Regions from separate parts of the Homo sapiens genome. Here all the other regions are linked to region 1. The links are contacts of gene promoters, found by promoter capture Hi-C in human tissues and cell types (Jung and others, 2019). All regions are on one chromosome and are shown on one strand. Each heading gives the region's core, a stretch centred on a gene start or on the middle of the fragment in contact. The rest is flanking DNA. Distances are from core to core; before and after follow the strand shown. Region 1 holds the start of PPIB (peptidylprolyl isomerase B). Region 2 overlaps TRIP4 (thyroid hormone receptor interactor 4). Region 3 overlaps CSNK1G1 (casein kinase 1 gamma 1). Region 4 overlaps CSNK1G1 (casein kinase 1 gamma 1).

What was found. Contacts are between HindIII fragments. The study calls those that stand out against the background at their distance.
Region 2: a contact is called between a fragment that was not itself captured here and the fragment with the promoter of PPIB in region 1, in 2 of the 25 tissues and cell types used here (aorta and mesenchymal stem cells).
Region 3: a fragment that was not itself captured here is called in contact with the fragment with the promoter of PPIB in region 1 in 2 of the 25 tissues and cell types used here (mesenchymal stem cells and mesendoderm cells).
Region 4: a fragment that was not itself captured here is called in contact with the fragment with the promoter of PPIB in region 1 in 2 of the 25 tissues and cell types used here (lymphoblastoid cells and mesenchymal stem cells).

The regions. Positions count from the first base shown.
Region 1 is chr15:64,161,680-64,164,334 of GRCh38, reverse strand. It overlaps PPIB (peptidylprolyl isomerase B), which reads left to right and starts at 1,313. Exons shown (of 5, transcript NM_000942.5): 1 at 1,313-1,483; 2 at 2,181-2,294. The coding sequence starts at 1,349. RefSeq lists enhancers at 799-848, 955-1,455, 1,399-1,648, 1,456-1,956, 2,190-2,655 and a silencer at 989-1,348. The HindIII fragment of the contact is 5,042 bases long and covers 1-2,412 here.
Region 2 is chr15:64,415,691-64,418,345 of GRCh38, reverse strand. All of the region lies in intron 8 of TRIP4 (thyroid hormone receptor interactor 4), which reads right to left. Among named protein-coding and RNA genes, the nearest start is that of TRIP4, 29 kb to the right of the region's middle. The HindIII fragment of the contact is 9,009 bases long and covers 1-2,655 here.
Region 3 is chr15:64,332,759-64,335,413 of GRCh38, reverse strand. All of the region lies in intron 1 of CSNK1G1 (casein kinase 1 gamma 1), which reads left to right. Among named protein-coding and RNA genes, the nearest start is that of CSNK1G1, 22 kb to the left of the region's middle. The HindIII fragment of the contact is 3,112 bases long and covers 1-2,655 here.
Region 4 is chr15:64,297,571-64,300,225 of GRCh38, reverse strand. The region is part of intron 2 of CSNK1G1 (casein kinase 1 gamma 1); the gene reads left to right. Among named protein-coding and RNA genes, the nearest start is that of CSNK1G1, 57 kb to the left of the region's middle. The HindIII fragment of the contact is 7,582 bases long and covers 1-2,655 here.

The DNA of each region.
Region 1 (2,655 bases), core at 64-2,563:
TCAGTATAACAATGTTTAAAACTTCCTCCTGATTGGGGTTGTCTGAATTGAGGTGCAAGGATGGGAAATAAGAGAACTGTCTTGAAGCTCTACAACCTGTGTAAGGCCGCTGTAATGAACAACAAAGTTAATGCCAGTGGCCTTGCATAACTTCAGTCTCAGGTCAGCGCCTCATGAAGACTACATTGCATAATTTATGTAAATGGAGCCCTGCCTATAATCTGTGCTGTGACGACCTGGAATTTCTACGAAGTTAATCGTTGAAAATTAGTTTTAAAGACGTTTTAACGCCATAGGTCCAAATTTTGGAAGTTTGTGTTTTGGTTTGTTTTGGTGTGTAAGACTCCCAGTACCAAAGTATCTATGTTGTAGATTGGGACAACACTAAGTGTGTGAAGACCTAAAATAGCCCTGTGGGGACATCTAGTAACTATTCCTGACCTCCGGAAAAAGGCATTGTATCCTCAGGCCGTGGCATAAATTATTTCTCATGTCAGTGCGGATGTGAAGCTATCCCAACCAGGACTTGTTGGGCACTCAGTACTGCCGCGCTGTGAGGGAGCTGTGGACAGAGTAAATGCAACACAGTCCCTTCCGCAGAAAAAAAAAAAAATGTAGTCTATTGGGGGAAAAGGTAAAGGAAGTTAAGAACAGCGTATACAATAAGATGTCCATTGATATACACAACAGTAAGCACAGCAAGATTACAGAAGGGAGAGAAAAATGGGTAGTAACTTGACGGCCTCAGTAAAAAAGGAAGTGGGTTGTGCAGCAAGTTTTGCAAGACAAGTGGAGGAGCCGTACAAGGCCACGCTCGGTAAGGATAAATGTCCCTGAAGTGTTTGGAAGCCACAACGTTTAGAGCCAATTTGGCGGTGACAAACACTTGACTGGCCCAAAACAGTGACAAGCTTCCCGTGCCCCTTGTCCAGGCCCACGTATTTGCTAACCTCAAGCGCCAGCTACCGCAGGCCAGTGGAACAGCGCTCCGGGCGGGGCGGGCCGCGGAGCATGCCGGGGCTTGTGGTCTTCTCGGAGCCCGGGCCCGTGCTCTGCGAGGCCGCCTTCCGCCGGTGGCCTTCCTGTGGGCGGGAGAGGGCGGCCGGGAGCCCAATGAGGGAGCAATAACGTGGCAACCACCCACGAGCCCGCGTCGGTGCCCGCCCCGCAGGGGGACCTACTATCCGGCGCCGAGCCGGAGGGGGGAAACGGCGCCCGCCGCCCGCCCGGAGCCCGCGAGCAACCCCAGTCCCCCCCACCCGCGCGTGGCGGCGCCGGCTCCCTAGCCACCGCGGCCCCACCCTCTTCCGGCCTCAGCTGTCCGGGCTGCTTTCGCCTCCGCCTGTGGATGCTGCGCCTCTCCGAACGCAACATGAAGGTGCTCCTTGCCGCCGCCCTCATCGCGGGGTCCGTCTTCTTCCTGCTGCTGCCGGGACCTTCTGCGGCCGATGAGAAGAAGAAGGGGCCCAAAGTCACCGTCAAGGTCCGGTGGAGTCCGCGGCATTTACGGTGCCGGAGCTCGGGCCCGGGCGGCCTTGGCTTGGCCTTGGCTCAGCCCCTCCTCCCTCGGCTTCTGTCTGTGGCCTCGTGGCGTCTGGGCCGTCCTGCCCATTCAGTCCAGGGAACGACCCGGACCCACCCCGACACCCCCAGCCCCTGCCCTGACCCAGGGAGTTAGTTGGATCCCCGGATACCCATCTGGGGCCGACACTGGCAGTCTCAGAGCAGGCTTTTTGCAAACACCCCTCAGTGCTGGGGAGATGGTGAAAGATCACGCCTGCCGGATTCCGAATCCTTTCTCTCCTTAAGCCAAATTTTAGCCACTTCCAATTACAAAGCACAGTATGTATACTTCAAACTTAAGTGGTGAACTTAGGCTCCGCTCCTTATGGGTTTTCTAATGTTAATTTTTAGAATCTGGGTCCATTAGCTGTTTAGAGCAAATATTGTTATCCTGTAGTCCAAGGAGGGTATAGATAAGCATGTTTTCCAAGAAAAGGGTCTGGAGCTTTCATTAGATTCTCATAGGATTTTTACCGTCACCAAAATCAGATTCAGAACCACTTCTCTAAAAATATGGCTCTATTCTCTCTCCCATCCTCAGGTTAGCTTCTTGTACCTTCCCTCCCCTAGCAACGCCCCTTTAAAGAAGCTAAGTTGGAAATGGTCTCTTTCCTCAGGTGTATTTTGACCTACGAATTGGAGATGAAGATGTAGGCCGGGTGATCTTTGGTCTCTTCGGAAAGACTGTTCCAAAAACAGTGGATAATTTTGTGGCCTTAGCTACAGGAGAGGTAAGTGGCTGGAGCAGGGGTAGTCAACTCACATGAAGTGAAATTGGCACTGGGGATGGCAGCAAACTGACCTGCAGAGTTCAGCCGATCTGTAGCGTGGACCTCACTGAGCACCGACTGCCTGTTGCCCTGGGAACACAGTATTGCCCTTTCTTAAGAGTAATGGGGCCCTGACCAGGCACAGTGGCTCACACTTAAAATCCCAGCACTTTTGGAGGCCAAAGTAGGAGGATTGCTTGAGCCCAGGAGTTCAAGGCCAACCTGAGCAACATAGCAAGACCCTGTCTCTACCCCCGCAAATTTTTTTTTTTTTTTGAGACGGAGTTTCACTCTTGTCGCCTGGGCTGGAGTGCAGTGGTGC
Region 2 (2,655 bases), core at 81-2,580, 250 kb before region 1:
GAGGTCAGGAGTTCTAGGCCAGTCTGGCTAACATGGTGAAACCCCATCTCTACTAAAACTACAAAAATTAGCTGGGCGTGGTGGCAGGTGCCTATAATCCCAGCTACTCATGAGGCAGAGGCAGGAGAATCATTTGAACCCAGGAGGTGGAGGTTGCAATGAGCCAAGATTGTGCCACTGCACTCCAGCCTGGGCAAGAGAGACTCTGTCTCAGAACAACAACAACAACAACAACAAATGAAAAATAATCCCATCTTTGTCTGCAATAAGGCCAAAAGGGTAGAGATAGTATACATTCAGTAGAAGTCTCAGGTATGATAACAAGGCCCATCTTAAAGAATAATTAGAATGTTGAAATCTCCATACAATGCTTACTAATTCCAGCAACAGCACAAATATCACACCAAAAGAGCTATAATTATTTCCAATTTATACTTAATGATCCATACTTGGTTCTGGATAATTTTTCAATAGAATTCTGTGAGCTAAATGAAAGTTCAACATTTTGGTCCACAATTCTGCATGTGCTTAGGGGCAGTGTCACATGCTGGCACCATGACAAAGCCAAACAGATGTTGTCAGGTCAGAGGCAGCAGTTCTGACTACTGGATGCATGAAATATTCTCTTACCCTGAAATGAAGAACTTGTCTCCTGAAAGAGAGGGTGGAGGACTACTAAAACAGGGCTCCCATCATATAAAAAGAATAGAGAATTATAAGGTACAGGTAATTACAGGAGAGTGAAGAGTCTTGGCAACAGTTCAGACAGAGAATGGCAAAGGTTAATGTTTCTTCCAGAGCAACGATACCATGTCCTCCAAAATTAAAATTTAAAAATAAAGGCAATTAGCATGATGATATTTGGGGTTATCTTTTTTAAAAAATTAATAATTTATAAAGCTGAACACAGTGAAGCATGCCTGTAGCTTCACTAGTTACTCAGGAGGTGAGGCAGGAGGATCACTTGAGCCCATAAGTTCAAGGCCAGCCTGGGCAACATGGTGAGGTCCTGTGTCTTTAAAAATAATAATAAGGGCCAGGCATGATGGCCGATGTCTGTAATCCCAGCACTTAAGGAGGCCAAGGCAGGAGGATCGCTTGAGCCCAGAAGTTTAAGACCAACCTGGGCAACAAGGCGAAACTCCTTCTCTACAAAAAAATATACAAATTAGTAAGGTATGATGGCACGTGGCTACTGTAGTCTGAGCCACTTGAGAAGCTGAGATGGGAGGATCTCTCGAGCCTGGGAGGTGGAGGCTGCAGTGAGCTATGATCATACCACTGCACTCTAGCCTGGATGACAGAACAATATCCTGTCTCAAAAATAAATAAAAATGAACATAAAATAACTTATAGGAAAAAACTTCTAGTGGTAGTCGAAACCCTAGGCATTTAACCCCTAAAGATTTCAGTTTTTCAAACTGGAAAAGGATGAAGTTGGACTAAATAAATTTCTAAGGATCTTTCTGCCATACAATTTTATGATTCTTGTCAATTGTGGCATATCTTAAAAATACACATTTTTACAAATTAAATACACATTTATTGAGTACTTAACTGTGAAAAGCACATTAACTAGGGAGACATAAAATATGAAAAAGATACGGTTCTTGCTTGCAAGGAACTTAAAGCCTAGTGGAAGACAGACACATAAATAACTATTCAAAACATAAGGCAGAATTGACTACATACTAAATAGGAGATAGAAGTTTTTACAGAGGACCAAAGAGGAAAAAGAATTGATCCATTATAGGGTAAATAAATAATTTCTTTAAAAAAAATTTTTTTTGAGACACTGTCTTGCTCTGTTGCCCAGGCTGGTCTTGACCTCCTGGCTTCAAGTGATCCTCCTTCCTCAGCCTCCCAAAATGCTAGGATTACAGACGTGAGCCACCACACCTGGCTGGAAATAAATAATTTCATAAAATGTTGGTATGTGAACAATCTTGAGGCCCAAATTATTTTTTCTATTTCTACTACAGCTGTTCCCTCTAATTACACAGCCACTTTCCTAAATTAATTCCTCATTATCTTTTGATAATACTATTAAAGAATCTGCCAGCAGGTCTCTTCATCTACATTTTTAGTCTTTATGATGATAATTATTTTTTTTTAGAGATGGGGTCTCACTGTGTCATCCAGGCTGGAGTGTGGTGGCTTAATCATAGCTCACTGCAGCCTCCAACTCCTGGTCTCAAGTGATCCTCCCACCTCAGCTTCCCAAGTATCTGGGACTATAGATGTGTATCACTACATCTCAGGCCCGGCTCCCACTTTTGGTCTTTAAATAACTCTCTACTGCTCCACTAGTGCTTTAATACTAATTTGGGCTGGCATCATCTTTCCATGGTGCTATTGCAATGACTACCTTGGCAATTTCTCAGCTTCTAATCTTACTTACTCTTCCCTCCAATCCATTCTCTACGTAGGCATGGAAGCCATGCCAATCTTCTGTTAAAATTCTTCCAGAACCCTTCTTTGCCTACTTTAGGGCAAAACCTAAACTCATTAGCATAAGACAAAAAATCTTTCATGATCAGGTGTTGCTTACTGTACTGGGTTGAGTAGTATCCCCCCAAAATCAATGTCCACGTTCATGGAATCTGTGAATACAACCTTATTTGGAAATAATCTTTACAGGTGTAATCAGTTTAA
Region 3 (2,655 bases), core at 66-2,565, 170 kb before region 1:
AAAAGTATAACAATTGAAAGAAAAATGAGGATCAGGACCTTTGTGGTACTTTATTTTTATGCCAGTAAGAAGTGTCTGTGGCTCCTCAATACTGGCTTCATCTTGATTGTTTTATTATTTATTTTCCTTGAGTAGGGAAGGAAAGCCATCTTCTCAGATAAGGTTATGTTTTTATTGTTTTAGCCTAGCTTTGCTTAAAAAAATTTTTAGTGAGGTAGACAAAACTCTTTATCAGGTATTGAAATATGTTTTTCCTAAAAGCATGTATTAGGCTACCCTTCTCACACAGGATGTGTTCTGAAATGACAGATAGATTTGCAGCAGATTCTCATTTTCTTTGTAGATTATGTGAACTGAGCAGTACTTGCAAAATAAGTCAATAATCTGAATCTTTGTAGTAACTCTTCTGGAGTTATTAGGGAAACCAAAAATGGAAATAATATTGTGGTCTCTAAGCTTACTCTAAATTAGGTAGTTATAGAAGTACACTTTTTGGTGAAGGTAAGTTTAACTGCTGTCATCTGTTAGATAAAACAGGGGTCCTGAAGCTCTGGGCCACAGACCAGTAGTGGTCCATGGCCCTTTAGGAACCGTGCTGCATAGCAGGAAGTGAGTGGCAGGTGAGTGGCAGGTGAGTGCGTGAAGCTTCATCTGTATTTAAAGCCACTCCCCATCACTTGCATTACTGCCCGAGCGCCACCTCCTGTCAGATCAATGGCAGCATTAGATTCTCATAGGAGCGTGAACCCTGTTGTGAACTGCACGTGAGAGGGATGTAGGTTATGCACTCCTTATGAGAATCTAATGCCTGATGATTGGCCAGAGTCTCCCATCACTTGCAGAAAGGACCATCCAGTTGCAGGAAAACAAGCTCAGGGCTCCCACTGATTCTACATTATGGTGAGTTGAATAATTATTTCATTGCATAGTACAATGTAATAATAATGGAAATTAAGTGCATAATAAATGTAGTGTGCTTGAATCATCCCTAAACCATTCCCCCCTGCCCTCCACCCCCAGTCTGTGGAAAAATTGTCTTCTGTAAAACTGGTCCTTGTGCCAAAAAGGTTGAGGACTGCTGAGATAAAAGATTTTAGGCTGGGCACGGTGGCTCACTCCTGTAATCCCAGCACTTTGGCAGGCTGAGGCAGGCATATCACTTAAGGTCAGGAGTTCAAGACCAGCCTGGCCAACATGGTGAAACACCATCTCTACTGAAATACAAAAAAATTAGCTGGGCGTGGTGGTCAGTGCATGCCTGTAATGAATGATTCATGTGGTAATGAGAAGACTGTATATCTTGCAGTTCTTGGGTAGAATGTTCAGTAAATATCTGTTAGGTCCATTTGTTCTCAAGTGCAGTTTAAATCCAGTGTTTCTTTGTTGACTTTGTGTCTCTAAGATCTATCTAGTGCTCGAAGATCTATCTATCTAGGGCTATCAGTGGAGTGTTGAAGTCCCCCATTATTATTGTGTTGCTGTCTCTGTCTTTTCTTAGGTCTAGTAGTAATTGTTCTATGAATCTAGATGCTCCAGAATTAGGTACATATATGTTTAAGATTGTAAAATCTTGTTAAATTGATCCTTTTATCATTGTATAATGACTTTGTCTTTTTAAACTGTTGTTTCTTTAAAGTCTGTTTTATCTGATGTAAGAACAGCTATTACTTCTTGCTTTTGGTTTCCGTTTGCATGTAGGAATCCTTAGGTGTTAGGTGAGCCTCTTGAAGACAGCAAATACTTGGTTTCCAATTTTTTATCCATTTTGCCAATTTGTACCTTTTAAGTGGCGCATTTAAGACCATTTACATTCAGCATTAATACTGAGATGTGAGGTACTGCTTTAGTCATCATGTTGATTGTTACCTAGACACTTTGTTGTCCTCATTATGTTATTTTATAGACCTTGTGAGTTTTGTGCTTTCAGGAGCTTCTATTCTGGTACATATTGACCTTTTTTTTTTTTTTTTTTTTTTTTTTGAGATGGTGTCTCACTGTGTTGCCCAGGCTGGTCTTGAACTCCTGGATTCAAGTAATCCTCCCACCTCAGCCTCCCAAAGTGCTGGGATTACAGGCATGAGCCACTGTGCCCAGCCATTGTTTCAAGATTTAGACCTCCTTTTAGCATTCCTTTTTTTTTTTTTTTTTTTTTTTTTGAGATGGAGTCTCACTCTTGTTGCTCAGTCTGGAGTGCAATGGCGCAATCTGGGCTGACTGCAACCTTGGCCTCCTGGGTTCAAGTGATTCACCTGTCTCAGCCTCCCGAGTAGCTGGCATTACAGGTGCCCGCCACCATACCTGGCTAAGTTTTGTATTTTTAGTAGAGACAGGATTTCACCATGTTGGCTAGGCTGGTCTTGAACTCCTAACCTCAGGTGATCCATCTACCTTGGCCTCCCAAAGTGCTGGGATTACAGGCATGGGCCACTGCTCCCAGCTAGTCAGGGAAATTTTCTTCAATTATTCCCTCAAATCAGTTTTCCAAACTTTCTGGTTTTTCTTTTCTCTCAGGAACACCAGTGATTCTTAGGTTTGAACATTTTACATAATCTCATTTATCTTGTGGGCTAAAAATTCTTTTAAAAAATTTTATGTAACTTTAAACATAAAAGTAAGATATTTTGCTTATATGAGCAAGAAAAATTTTAAATTATT
Region 4 (2,655 bases), core at 45-2,544, 140 kb before region 1:
GAAATTTTTCTTAAGGAGAACCTGTTGTTAAGAAATAATTTGTGAAGGGGCACTATAGTCATTATCAATTATTTGTTATCCAAGGCTCATCTCTCTTTATGTGTGTGCGATGGGCTTTTAAGTTTTCTACCAGTTCTGAGATTTTCTGATGAACATAGAGTTGCATACAGATATCAGTAAAATGCAGACTCTGATTTAGGATGTCTGAGGTGGAGCCCCAAATTCTGCATATTTTTACAAATTCCAGGTGATGCAGATGCTGTTGGTCTTTTAAGAAGGACATAAGGCCTTGGTTTAATTCAGACTCTGCCCCTGAAAAGAAAAGAGTAAATCCTTACTCAGTAATACCCAGGCTTAGTCTGCAAGGATATACAGTACATCCTGTTTGGAGAAATTTTCCAAAAGATAATTTGTTTGCGTTTCTTCCTGGAGTTTCCAGCATTAGAATTAAGTTAGAACTCCAAGGAGAAGTTAGGCAATTTTATTTCCCAACTAAGGCAATGGATTTTCTATTTCAATTATGAATTTATGGGTGAGATGGAAAATAATGACAAAATTAATCTGTCTAAAAATGTGAGATTGGGAAGAAGGTACATTGGGTATTTATATATATATATAAAATTTTTTTTTTTTTGAGATGGAGTCTTACTCTGTCGCCCAGGCTGGAGTGCAGTGGCGCGATCTCGGCTCACTGCAAGCTCTGCCTCCCGGGTTCATGCCATTCTCCTGCCTCAACCTCCCAAGTAGCTGGGACTACAGGCATCCGCCACCACGCCCGGCTAATTTTGTTTTTGTATTTTTAGTAGAGACAGGGTTTCACCATGTTAGCCAGGATGGTCTTGATCCTCTGACTTCGTGATCCGCCCGCCTCGGCCTCCCAAAGTGCTGGGATTACAGGCGTGAGCCACCGCGCCCGGCCATTTATATACTTTTTAATGGCTCTCCCTTGATGAGTGGGATAGAGAAAATAAAAGGCCGTATAAATATATGAAGTTGGAAATTAGCCTGGAGAATGTGGAAAGGTCATCTTTTAGGCTAAAGTGTTTTCTTTTCCTTCATAGCTCTTGAGACTGTGGATTAATGTGAAGACTCATTGTAAGAAACTTTGGCCCTTTGGGGGGAGTGGTGGGAGGGTGGGAACATAATGTAATTATGTTTGTTACCTCTGCTACTTCTTTTTCTTTTTGAGATGGAGTGTTGCTCTGTCACCCAGGCTGGAGTGCAGTGGTGCGATCTCAGCTCACTGCAACCTCCTCTTCCCAGGTTCAAGTGATTCTTGTGCCTCATCCTCCAGAGTAGCTGGGACTTACAGGCATGTGCCACCATGCCCAGCTTATTTTTTTTTTTTTTGTATTTTTGTGGAGACGGGCTCTTGCCATATTGGCCAGGCTGGTCTTGACCTCCTGGCCTCAAGTGATCCACCCGCCTCGGCCTCCCAAAGTGCTGGGATTACAGGCTGAGCCACTACGCCTGACCACCTCTGCTACTTGTGATGGTCCTGCATAGAGAACATGGACAAAATCTTATCTCTGATCCCCCATAGAGAGCCTTGGAGAAACATCACTATACTAGCCAGAGACCATTTGAATTTAAGAATGATGAGAATGGATTTATTTTTACTGTTAGAAGGCTGACAACCTGGAAATTCAGGACTTAATTAGGATAATGAAAGGATCTTTATATTTAGAATTGTGTTCGGGTTACCAAAGCCAGCAGATGCTACTTACAATACGAGTAAGATGTGTAATTACTGCTTTACTTTCTAGCAATCACAGAGTTGCTTTAACGAATAGTTCTGTGAATATTTCTTTATGTCATAAATTGACTGTAACATCACAGTACTACTTGGATGGATTAAATAATTATGACATAAACATCCATAAAATGATTGCTAAGAGGCAGTTTCTAAAGCATCTAAATCTTTGAATTCTCAAAACATCAGACAATTGTTTCATTTCTGTGAAAGTGAAGAAAAACCTTGGTGAATTAAAAGTGGAAATCTGTTTAATCACTGAAGTCTAGATTTGTATTATAAGTTTACGTGGGAAGGGAAAAATTCATTCAGTTAAAAGCATACATTTATAGCCCATATATATTTTCAGAGTAGTATTGTGTTTTGTTTCCTCTTTGAATCTGAGATAATTTTGATGTTTCTCATTTGGACTTGCCTGTAGTCAGAAGAACTTGTCTTTCTTTTCATGTGCTTTTACTCTTCTCTGCTTATCAAGTTTTCATTAGCCCTGGGACCATACTGTTATGGCCTTGTATCTAGAAAAGATACTTTCAGAATTATCTGGCATCTTCCTGACAATAGAGTGGGCTGCATACCCCATTCCGTCATTTTCTTGTTCTAATATTAGCGAGGAGAAGATTGTAAACTACAAAATTCCAAAGTCAAGGCAGGTGCAGTCAGCCTACATCATGGCTACCACCTACAAAGCTCTGCTTCTCTAAACTAATTTCCTTTCCTAGACACACAGTCTGTCAAACAGCCAAGTGCATTTCTTCTTATTCTTTTTTTTTTTTTGAGAGACAGGGTCTTGCTCTGTTACCCGCCCTGGAGTGCAGTGGCATGATCATAGCTCACGCAGCCTCCAACTCCCAGGCTCAAGCGATCCTCCTACTTCAGCCTCCTTAATAGCTAGTGCATAAGAA